Regions from separate parts of the Homo sapiens genome. Here region 2 is linked to region 1. Evidence: promoter capture Hi-C in 16 types of primary human blood cells and fetal thymus (Javierre and others, 2016). All regions are on one chromosome and are shown on one strand. The core of a region is centred on a gene start or on the middle of the fragment in contact, and the rest is flanking DNA. Distances in the headings are between cores, read along the strand shown. Region 1 holds the start of TRAFD1 (TRAF-type zinc finger domain containing 1). Region 2 overlaps ALDH2 (aldehyde dehydrogenase 2 family member).

Region 1 (5,373 bases), core at 1,648-4,147:
TGTCTCAGAAAAATAAAAAATAAGTAAATAAATAAATAAAAATAAGTTTCTAACAAACCCTTTAAAGATTCTGGTACAAGGAGGTTGGGGGGAACTCCATCTAATCCTCTCATACAGGTGACTCCTGGTAAACCAAGAAGCAGCTCTTCCTCTAACCTAATCTAAATCCTTTCTGCTGCCACTGTAATCACCCCGCCTTGCCTGCCTTTTTTGGTCAGGAATAAAATATCCCTAAACTTTTTTTATTTCTGCTGTTGGATTTAGGCCAGTGAAAATAAGGCACCCCAGGGGTTAAGTGAAATTTGAGCTTATCATTATTTCAGTTCATTCCTTGCTACCCTGGACCTTGTTGTCTCCTCCCACTGTGAACTATGAATTTAGAGGAGCTTCTGGGTCACTCAGGCAACGGAAGACAGGACTGCCATTCTCCTGTTTATTTATTCAAAATGTGTTTATACCAAGTGGATGACTATACGGAGCAACTGAAACTCTCCTACACTACTGTTGGGAACGTTTAGTTGTGCAATCACTTCGGAAAACAGTTTGGTAGTTTCTTGTAAAGTTAAAACATAGACTTACCGTATGATCCAGCAATCCCACTTCCAAGTGTTTATCTGAGAGAAATAAAAACATATATCCCCAAAGACTTGCACAAGAATGGTTACTACTGCTTAAACTAGAATCAATTTTTTTTTTTGAGATGGAGTCTTGCTCTGTCACCCAGGCTGGAGTGCAGTGGTGCCATATCAGCTCGCTGAAACCTCTGCCTCCCAGGCTCAAGCAATCTTCTCACCTTAGCCTCCCAAGTAGCTGGGACTACACGCATGAGCCACCACGCCTGGCTACATTTTTGTATTTTTTGTAGAGACAGGGTTTTGTTATGTTGCCCAGGCTGGTCTGGAACTCCTGAGCTCAGGCGATCCACCCACCTTGACCTGCCGAAGTGCTGGGATTGTGGGCGTGAGCCACCATGCCTGGCCAAAAACTAGAACCAGCTCTAATGTTTGTCAGTATAAATTGTGGCATATCCATGTGCTATGCTACTTGGCACTGAAAAGGAATAGACTTGATATTATCAACAGCATGGATAAACCTCAAAAACATTATGCTGAGTTAAAACACCTTATTCATAAAAGAACACACTATATGGTTATCTTTTTTCTTTATATATACTTAATACATTAATATACTTAATTCATATTAATACACATTTTTTCTGATTGCTTTTTAACTGTTAATGATTGTGCTTTCTTTTGAACTCCAGTAAGTTTTGTTATTAAAATGTAACATACAATGTAAAGTGCTTAAGATATAGGTGTGTAGCTTAATAACTATTTACTAATTAATCCATCTGTGTTAATCACTTTGCTGATCAAGATATAAACATTTCTAGAAAATCTTTCTCATATCTCCTTACAGGCTATATACCCTCTGAATGGAACCAGTTACTTACTTCTCTCACTTTAGGTTAATTTTCCCTGGTTTTAAACTTTATATGTTTGGAATCACACAAGTTATATTGCATATTTAAGCTAAATATTTTATCTTGTTATAAATATTGCTTTGAGACGGAGTTTTGATTTTGTTGCCCAGGCTGGAGTGCAGTGGCTCAATCTCGGCTCACTGCAACCTTCACCTCCTGGGTTCAAGCGATTCTCCTGTCTCAGCCTCCCAAGTAGCTGGGATCATAGGCGCCTGCCACCACGGCCAGCTAATTTTTGTATTTTTAGTAGAAACGGTGTTTCACCATGTTGGCCAGGCTGGTCTTGAACTCCTGACCTCAGGTGATCCACCAGCCTCTGCCTCCCAAAGTGTTGGCATTACAGGCGTGAGCCACCGCGCCCAGCCTGTTAGATGCTTTTCTTGCTTAGTACTATCTCATTAACATTTTGCAATTATATTATATTATATTATATTATATTATATTATATTATATTATATTATTTTTGAGACGGGGTCTTTCTCTGTCCCCCAGGCTGGAGTGCGGTAGCATGATCAGGGCTCACTCCAGCCCTGCCTCCTGGGCTCGAGGGATCCTTCCACCTCAGCCTCCCAAGGAGGTGGAACTACAGGTGCGTGCCACCACGCCTGGCTAATTTTTGTATTTTTTTTGTAGAGATATGGTTTCATTATATTGCCCAGGCTGGTCTCTAATTCCTGAGCTCAAGAGATCCACCCGCCTTGGCCTCCATATTTTGCAATTATAATCTGCAATGGAATCATAATTTTAAATTGCTGTATTGTTTGTAATATGTGCTTGGTTATACTTATATAATTATAAGTTGGTTTGTAATATGTGCTTGGTTATACTTATATAATTATTCTCTCCTTTATTATACATGAGGTAAGAGAAGCTCAGGGAATCCATTCAGGCAGCAAGTGGAGAAACTAGCTCTCAAACCTGCATCTCAGGCTCTCATTCTTCCACTGCAAAAAAGCAAAGTGCTCAAAAAATATGGTCACAGATCTGCAGAAGTCTTGCACAAGGGCATTATCATAGCAATAAGAATGACTAATAAGTATTAACGGCCCATGAGAAAAGAACAAATACCATTAATTATCTCAATATATTAAGCATATTAGTAATGTTTGTACAGAATTATTCATGCAAATATTATTAGCCTGTGTCGGGGACAGTTGCTAAACTCAGCAACAGGCTCACAGCTCAGCTTCGTGCCTCTGGTTCCAGATGTGCAGGGGCCAGGGCTTCCAGGGACACGCCCCCGTGGGCCTCCAGGGAGCCAATCGACGCGCAGAAGGCGGGGCCCTGGGAGCGACAACGGTGTTATCCAATGGGCCGACAGCTGGAGCCGCCCCTGGCCAATGGGCGCGCTCCTCCGCGATGGGCGGAAGTGGTGAGGCAGCTCTGAGGGCCGTTGTTCAGTGCGGGGTCTGACAGAGGAGGCTCCGTGTCTGCAGCTAGTGTGTCAACTCAGCGTTTCTCCTCTCGTCCCTGGTGAGGTGTAGCGGCGGCACGCGGCTGGAGATCCCCTGTGGCCTCCAGTTTAGGAAGGGTCCAGCATCCCAAGGGAGGGGTGTGTGGGCGAGGGGTCTCTGGGCCCGGGGTCGCGGCTGTGAGGAGAGGATGCCCGCGCGGCGGCATCTCAGGCACCTGGAGGAGGCCGCGCTTTCTCCTCAGGGAACCGGCGCCTTGGCAGCCCCCGGCGACGCCGCCCCCTTCGCGGCCTAGGTTGGTCTGGTGAGCCGGGAAGCGGGCGTCGTTCGCAGCGCCGCTGTGACCACCGCGTCCCGGGCGGAGCTGGGCTCAGTGCCGGCCTGGGCCTAGAGTCCGAGCCTCGAGCTGCCGGCGTGGGGGGTCGCGAGTGGCCTAATGCGGCCTCGAAGCCGAAGGACCCGAGTCCGAGCTCGCACTCCGACCCGCTGGTGCTGTGGAAAACTCAGGTGGCCTTCCGCTTTCGTAGCCTCTAAAGTGGGGACCAAGACTTTCACCTCTTAGGATTGTAGTCGGGATTAAAAGATTTTCCCGGTAAGCGTTTGGCAACTGCTATTATTTGAGAAGCCGCTTACTTCTTCACTCCCCATCACCGACCTTCCTGGGGACGGGGGCGATTGGAAACTGCCTTGGGGTATCTGGACCCGGCAGGGGAAGCTCCGCCGCCTCGGGCAGAGGGACGGTCCCCTCTGCGGACTAGAGAGATCTAGCTGACCCCCAACAGGCTCCTTATAAGCTTGAAGACTTTTCTGTGCCTCAACTCTTCCGTGCATTCGCCCGTTTCCTTGACCCTTTGAAGTATTGTCAGTCCTCTGCCTGAAGAATCTGAGGCCCAGAGAGGTTAAATCTGGCAGAACCAGCCAGACCTTGACCCCCAGAGGGGGACCCTGCAGGCTACCCCCAGTCTCCTTGCATCTAGAAAAGCAAGCACCTGCTACATCTGAGCTCTGGCCTTAGAGTTGGCCAGAGTGGGCTGGAATAGAGCACACCTGAAATCAGTCGGACAGCCTTCCTTAGTTGCCATTTCATATCAGAGTGAATATCTTTTTTTTTTTTTGAGATGGAGTCACCTTCTGTTGTTCAGGTTGGAGTGCAGTGGCGAGATCTCAGCTCACTGCAGCCTCCGCCTCCTGGGTTTAAGTGATTCTCTTGCCTCAGCCTCCTGAGTAGCTGGGATACAAGCGCCCGTCACCACGCCCAACTAATTTTTGTATTTTTAGTAGAGACTTGGTTTTGCCATGTTGGCCAGGCTGGTCTCGAACCCCAGACCTCCAGTGATCTGCCCACCTCGCCCTCCCAAAGTGCTGGGATTACAGGCGTGAGCTGCTGCGCCCAGCCCAGAATGGGTGTCTTGAATTATGTCATTCCCTAGTTTAAAGCCCTTCAGTGGTTTACCATTGAGCTTGGAATCGAATCCAATATTCTTTCTGTCTGATATGACAAGACCTTCTTGAGTCATTCCCCTTTTTTATTATGCTCTTCCAGATCTGCCTTTACTTTCTCTTTCATTGCTTTTAGGCCTTTTGCCCTTCCCACTGCCTGGATGGATTTCCCCGCATTCCCATCCTCTATCTTTGTCTTTTCGTGGTTGGCTCTTGTACTTCAGTTCTTAATTTAAATGTCGTCTCCCCAGAAAGTTCTTCCCTGACCACTCTTATCTACCTAAAGTAGATTTGCCTCTATTCCGCCCCCATTTATTTGTCAGTATACTTTTCCATCACAATACTCAAGTTATATGTATTTTTTTGCTTATTGTTTTTCTCTACCACTAAATCGCTTTATCAGAGACTATATTTCCTTATTTTGTAAAGTATTTTTAGTGCCAGGGCACAGTGGCACACAGTATGGTCTTCTTTTTCTTTGAGACAGGGTCTCACTCTGTCACCCCGGCTGGAGTGCAGTGGTGTGATCACAACTCACTCACTGTAGCCTCGACCTCCTGGGCTCAAGCCTCCCAAGTAGCTGGGACTACCTCAGCCTCCCACCCCAGCCTCCCAAGTAGCTGAGATTACAGGCATGTGCCACCATACCCACCTAATTTTTTGCTTTTTTGTTTTTTGTTTTTTTTGAGAGGGAGTCTCGCTCTGTCGCCCAGGCTGGAGTGCAGTGGCGTGATCTCGGCTCACTGCAAGCTCTTTTTAGTAGAGACTGGGTTTCACCATGTTAGGCAGGATGGTCTCGATCTCCTGACCTTGTGATCCACCTGTCTCGGCCTCCCAAAGTGCTGGGATTACAGGCATGAACCACCGCACCCGGCTGCTTATTTTTTATAAAGGCAGGGTCTTACTATGTTTCCTGGCTGGCCTTGAACTCCTGAGCTCAAGTGATCCACCCACCCCAGCCTTCCAGAGTGCTGGGATTACAGGTGTGAGACACTGCACCTGGCCCACAGTATTGTCCTTTTTTTTTTTATTTTTATT
Region 2 (5,266 bases), core at 2,540-5,039, 350 kb before region 1:
TGGCCTCTTTTTTTTTTGGTTTTTTTTTTTTTTTTTGAGACAGGGTCTTGCTCTGTTGCCCAGGCTGGAGTGCAATGGCATGATCATAACTCACTGCAACCTCAAACTCTTGGGCTGAAGCGATCCTCCTGCGTCAGCCACTAGAGGCACTGGGATTATAGGCATGGGCCACAACATCCAGCTAGGAGTTTTAAGAGCCTCTATAGAAATAGATTTAGGTGGCCGGGCATGGCAGCTCATGCCCTGGCATAAGAGTGAGGCCTAGTGACAGAGTGAGACTCCGTCTCAAAAAAAAAAAACAAAAAGAAATAGATTTAGGCAGGCTGGGTGTGGTGGCTCATGCCTGTAATCCCAGCACCTTGGGAGGCCGAGGCAGGCGGATCACCTCAGGTGGAGACCAGCCTGACCAATATGATGAAACCCCGTCTCTACTAAAAATACAAAAATTGGCCGGTGTGGTGGCATGTACCTGTAATCCCAGCTACCTGGGAGGCTGAGACAGGAGAAACGCTTGAACCCAGGAGGCGGAGGTTGTGGTGGGGCCCAGTGACACCGCCCGCCTCAGCCTCCCAAAGTGCTGGGATTACAGGCATGAGCCACCGTGGCCGGCCCGTGTTTTTAATCAGAGAACACAAATGGGCATTCAATACTTCCTGCCTGCCCAGAATCTGTGGGACACACTTGAGTTTCAGGTGACAGGGCTATAATAATGTTTGTGCTCCTGAGGTCAAGCTGAGTTGAGAATTTACATGTTGTGGACATGTGTATGTATTCCCTGCTCCAGTAATCATGATTATTCATCACCTATTTTCCATCAGGCCCTCTACTGAGGACTTCTACCTGCATTTCACCTTTCATCCTACCCGCAACTCTATAAGCCTGGTAGTATTGCTGTCCCGTCTTGCGGGTGAGGAAACTGAGGCTCAGGGAGGTCAAGTTCACATTAAGTATAACTAAGGGCATGTGTGTGAAGGTTGGGCAGGGCAGAATTTGAAGCCCACTTTCAAACTTATAACTTAATGTGAACTTGACCTCCCTGAATAATGATCAGACCATAAGAATGTATTAATAAACATTTAAGGGACAATTGAATAGAATTTTAAAATCAGAGAGGAGGAGCCATGTTTGTATTGTTCACTTTTGCATTCCTGGCACCTAGCACCTTAGCATAGGATCACTGTTGGGTAAATATTTATTGAATAATGAATGGTTGCCATTTACGAAACCATGTTTACAGTTTTGTGCTCCAGAAGTGAGGTAAAGGGTTGCTTAATGAGAACCCAGTATTTCTACTCAAAAGGACCTTATTGCAAAGTATTTGGAAGTTTAAAAGAGTGGGAACATGGGGACGCATAGGGAGTGGTGAAACTGGCTCAGGGAAAGTCCATTGCAGCAAGATAGAGGTTGCCAAACCGTAAGCAGAACAAGTTGAAACCGCGCCTGTCTGGCAAACAGTCCAAAGTGGAATTGAAACTCCCATCTTTGAAGTGGTGAAAAAAGGCCCTGGGGTGGGGGAGTGGGGCAGAGGGCTGGCGTCTGTCTGCCTGGGTTAGTCTTGGTTCGGGAGTGTCCCGAGCAAGCCTGGGGAGATGACTGCCCCTCGCCTTGATCCCCAACTAACCTGGGGTTCTGGATTATGTGTGGGGAAGAGGGAATGTGTGTGGCATTCCGTGTTTGTCTTGAACTTTACTCCCTGGAATCTTGTAATACAAGCAATGGCATCTGCTTTCCATCGGACATAATCACCTAACCGCAGATTAGCAAGTGAAAGAGCACATGCCGTTGGGATCATCCCAGGCTGCAAAACCGCGCCATTAGCTTGCTCACTCTTTGGGAAAATACGGTGTTCCAGGGACGGGGATTTCCTAGGTAACATGTCCAGTTCTCTCATGCATCAAAGCTTGAACTGAAATCTTTCTAGAATGTATCCTGCCTCCTTAAATCAGAACTACTGAACACAGTTTAGCCTTTCATTGGAGACCCTGGGCAGATGATTACTGAACACAGTTTAGCCTTTCATTGGAGACCCTGGGCAGATGATAACCACCCATTGTCATGAGGTCTGGGGGTGGTGGCCAGAATTTCATTCTCTCCTGGCCTTGGTCTGACCTCCGCCCCCAAGGTCCAGTTGTCCTGCTCTGGGCACTGACCCTGCCCCAGCTCCTGAGCCCCTCGACCACCACAATCACCACTAAGTCTCTGCCTGGCATGGAGAACAAGATAGCCAAGGTGAAGAGGGATCCTGTTACCCTCTAACTCAGTAGTTCTAATTTCTACACAGTAATCTGCCCCATGTTTGGAAAAACGCATGTGAAAGGGTTCGCCACAGCTGTTGCTGGAATGGCGATCACTTGTCCTAAAAGTGCATTTGTAGGAAATCGTTAAATAAACCATGGCCTGACCGTGTTGAGGAACGCTATGTGGCTTAACATGAGGCAGAGCTGCCTGTGGAATAACGTCCAAGAGAAACTGAGAAAAGCGAGTTAGCAAACAGCAAGTCTATTACCCCCACTTAGAAAGGACACGGCAGTGTCCCGGTTCTCTGGTCTCCTGGGTCCTCCCAGCATCAAGTGCAGATCCTGGCACACAGCAGGTAGAATCGCGAGCCCCCCGCTCTCCCCTCACCTACACCCTGCAGCCACTCCTCCTGTCCCCAGGCTCTTCCTAGCAGTCACCCTTCAGACCCCTCAGCTGGCCAAGCCTCCTCCTGCTTCTCACTTGCTTGGTTTTGCTTGTTTCCTGCGCCCTCTCCTCACCAGGACTTCAGCTCCCACAAGCCAGGACTTGGCTCTTGGACTCCCTGTGCTGGAGTGGCCAGGGCTGTCAGTGAAAGCTTATGGAATGCGTGGGTGAATGAATCCAATTTTTACAAAACAAAGTGAGATGTATTTATTAAAATATGTAGGAATTAGAGTATTTTGATAGAAAATCTTTATGTTTTGCCTACAGTCTAGATTGAAAATGTCAACTCCAGACATCACTGTGCTTCTGGAAACTATAAAGAGGAAGTGGGAGCTAGGACATCCCCCCACCACGCCCCGCCCAAGAGCGTTTACGTGTGTTATGTAAGTCGAGCTTCGGGTTTCTGGTCAGGAGGTTATAAAGCATTTGGCCCAGAGTCTGGCCTGGTGTTTATTCAGGAAAACTGCTCCTCACTTGAAGCAGAACTTTGGCAGAAACTCAGTGTGAGAACAGTTCCTACCCAGCCCCCCACCGGGGAGGGAAGCCACTGAGTCTGGCTCTGGGAGAAGGGAAATGGGAAATGTAAACCGGAGGAGGTTTCCAGCGTCCTACAGCAGACCCAGGTTTATCTTATCAGTGGAGAAGGGAGGATGGGTTGTTGAAAATGCAGCCTGGTTCAACAGTGAAGGGTGATTGAGAACATTCTGGGCTTTGAAAGGCAAACATGCCAGGGAGTGGTCTTTCCAGGATCCTAATCTAAATCAGAGGGGCCAGCCCAGCGAGGAAGGGGTGGGGCTGGTGGGGTTTTAGCCAGACTGGCCCACCTCTCCCCTTCCTACTTCCTGATCTTTGCAAAATAAAGTTTAAAATCCAGGACAATTTAGTATGCTTTGGTGCAGGGAACAACATAAAGAGTATAGACCTGGCCCTCGCTCCTAAGAATCTTTAAGCTACGAGAGAGCTGCAGGATCTAGAACACTGCAGGACCCCCTGCGGGCAAGGTCCTAGCTTAGGAACTGTACACTCGTTCTTGCATTTAACCTTCACATCAGCCCCCAGAAGTACTCGATGAGGCATCTGGGAAGTGAAGGGATTTGCCCAGGGTCAAATCTGTGAGGGATGGAGTCAGAATTCAAACCCAGGCCGGGCATGGTGGCGCACAGCTGTAATCCCAGCACTTTAGGAGTCCAAGGCAGGAGGATCACTTGAGCACAGGAGTTTGGGACCAGCCTGGCCAACATGGTGAAAGCCCATCTCTACAAAAAATACAAAAAAAATCCCACCTTTATTTAAGAAAAAAAATTCAAACCCAGATCTGTTTGGCTTTGAGGTTGGTGCTTTTTACAACATTCAGAATAAAATTTTTTTTTTTTTTGAGACTCTGTTGCCCAGGCTGGAGTACAGTGGTGCAATCTTGGTTCACTGCAACCTCCATCTCCTAGGTTCAAGCAATTCTCCTGCCTCAGCCTGTCGAGTAGCTGGGATTACAGGCAAGTGACACCATGCCCAGCTAATTTTTGCATTTTTAGTAGAGACAGGGTTTCACCATGTTGTCCAGGCTGGTCTCGAACTCCTGACCTCAAATGATCCACCTGCCTTGGCCTCCCAAAGTGCTGGGATTACAGGGATGAGCCACTGTGCCTGGCTCAGAATCAAAATGTGAAATCAACGTGTGTTGAGTCAGTAAGTAAACCATAAAGATGGAGATTTGGGAATCAGAATTCCAACCTCCTTGAAGGCAGACCTGGGCTATGGCTGGAGGTTGGAGTTGGGAAAAACACAGGCCTTGGAGTCCCAAAGACCTGGCTTCAAAGCCTGGCTCTGCCTTTGCTGCTGTGTGACCTAGAGCCAAGTGGCTGGACTCTTCTGTGCCCAGCATCCTCTGCTGTGAAGTGGAGAGGATGAAGTTCACCTCCTAGGTTTGCTATGAGGTTTAAATGGGAACAATCCAAGTACACAGAACCGCTGGTGTGGGGCTGGTTCTTGAGGGGTAGCTAGTGAATGTTAGCCATGTCCATGACACGCAGAGGGCTGAGTGGACTTCCTCCCTGGGTGGGGGAGGAAGAAGCTTGGGGATAGTACAAGGCCAACCAGACCTACTTCCACCCAGCCCAGCCTAGTGCTTCTCTGTACTCTCCTAACCCTGCTGACCCAAGTGCTTTGCTGTGAGGCAGTTGTGTGTGAGGCGTGAACCCTGAGCCTGTGCTACAGGGGGAAGGAGAGAAGGATGCCTACTCAATGGCTGCAAGCTGCCTGCCCGCCCCCCACGCCCGTGAGCCCCCATCTTCCAGCAGGCAGACCCGGGAACTCCCTTCTCCTCCACGGGCACCCCGAGGAGGAGCTGACTTTCAGAGTCGGGGAGTAAACACCCAGGACCTGCTGCCCAGGCACGGCATAGTCCAACTTGAACTTAGGTCTGGCAGTTTCCTGGCTTTGAACCTGAGCTCTTTATTGCCACACCTGTCCCCACACTGGAAATGACCCAGCCCTCCCGTGGAAAGAAAGAAGGGTGCCATTTCCCTAAAAATTAACGATTGACTAACTAATATGAAACCACACAAGCACGCCTCCAGAACCCCAGTTA

The links. The method cuts DNA at HindIII sites, captures the fragments that hold promoters and counts their contacts. A CHiCAGO score of 5 or more calls a contact.
Region 2: a contact is called between a fragment that was not itself captured here and the fragment with the promoter of TRAFD1 in region 1, in 1 of 17 cell types (monocytes). The highest score is 5.6, in monocytes.

Annotation. Positions count from the first base shown.
Region 1 is chr12:112,122,663-112,128,035 of GRCh38, forward strand. TRAFD1 (TRAF-type zinc finger domain containing 1) reads left to right here and starts at 2,898. Exons shown (of 12, transcript NM_006700.3): 1 at 2,898-2,956. RefSeq lists enhancers at 2,623-2,917, 2,895-2,944, 3,355-3,424. The HindIII fragment of the contact is 16,634 bases long and covers 1-3,687 here.
Region 2 is chr12:111,772,656-111,777,921 of GRCh38, forward strand. All of the region lies in intron 1 of ALDH2 (aldehyde dehydrogenase 2 family member), which reads left to right. Among named protein-coding and RNA genes, the nearest start is that of ALDH2, 8.4 kb to the left of the region's middle. RefSeq lists enhancers at 478-1,049, 2,753-2,942. The HindIII fragment of the contact is 1,917 bases long and covers 2,832-4,748 here.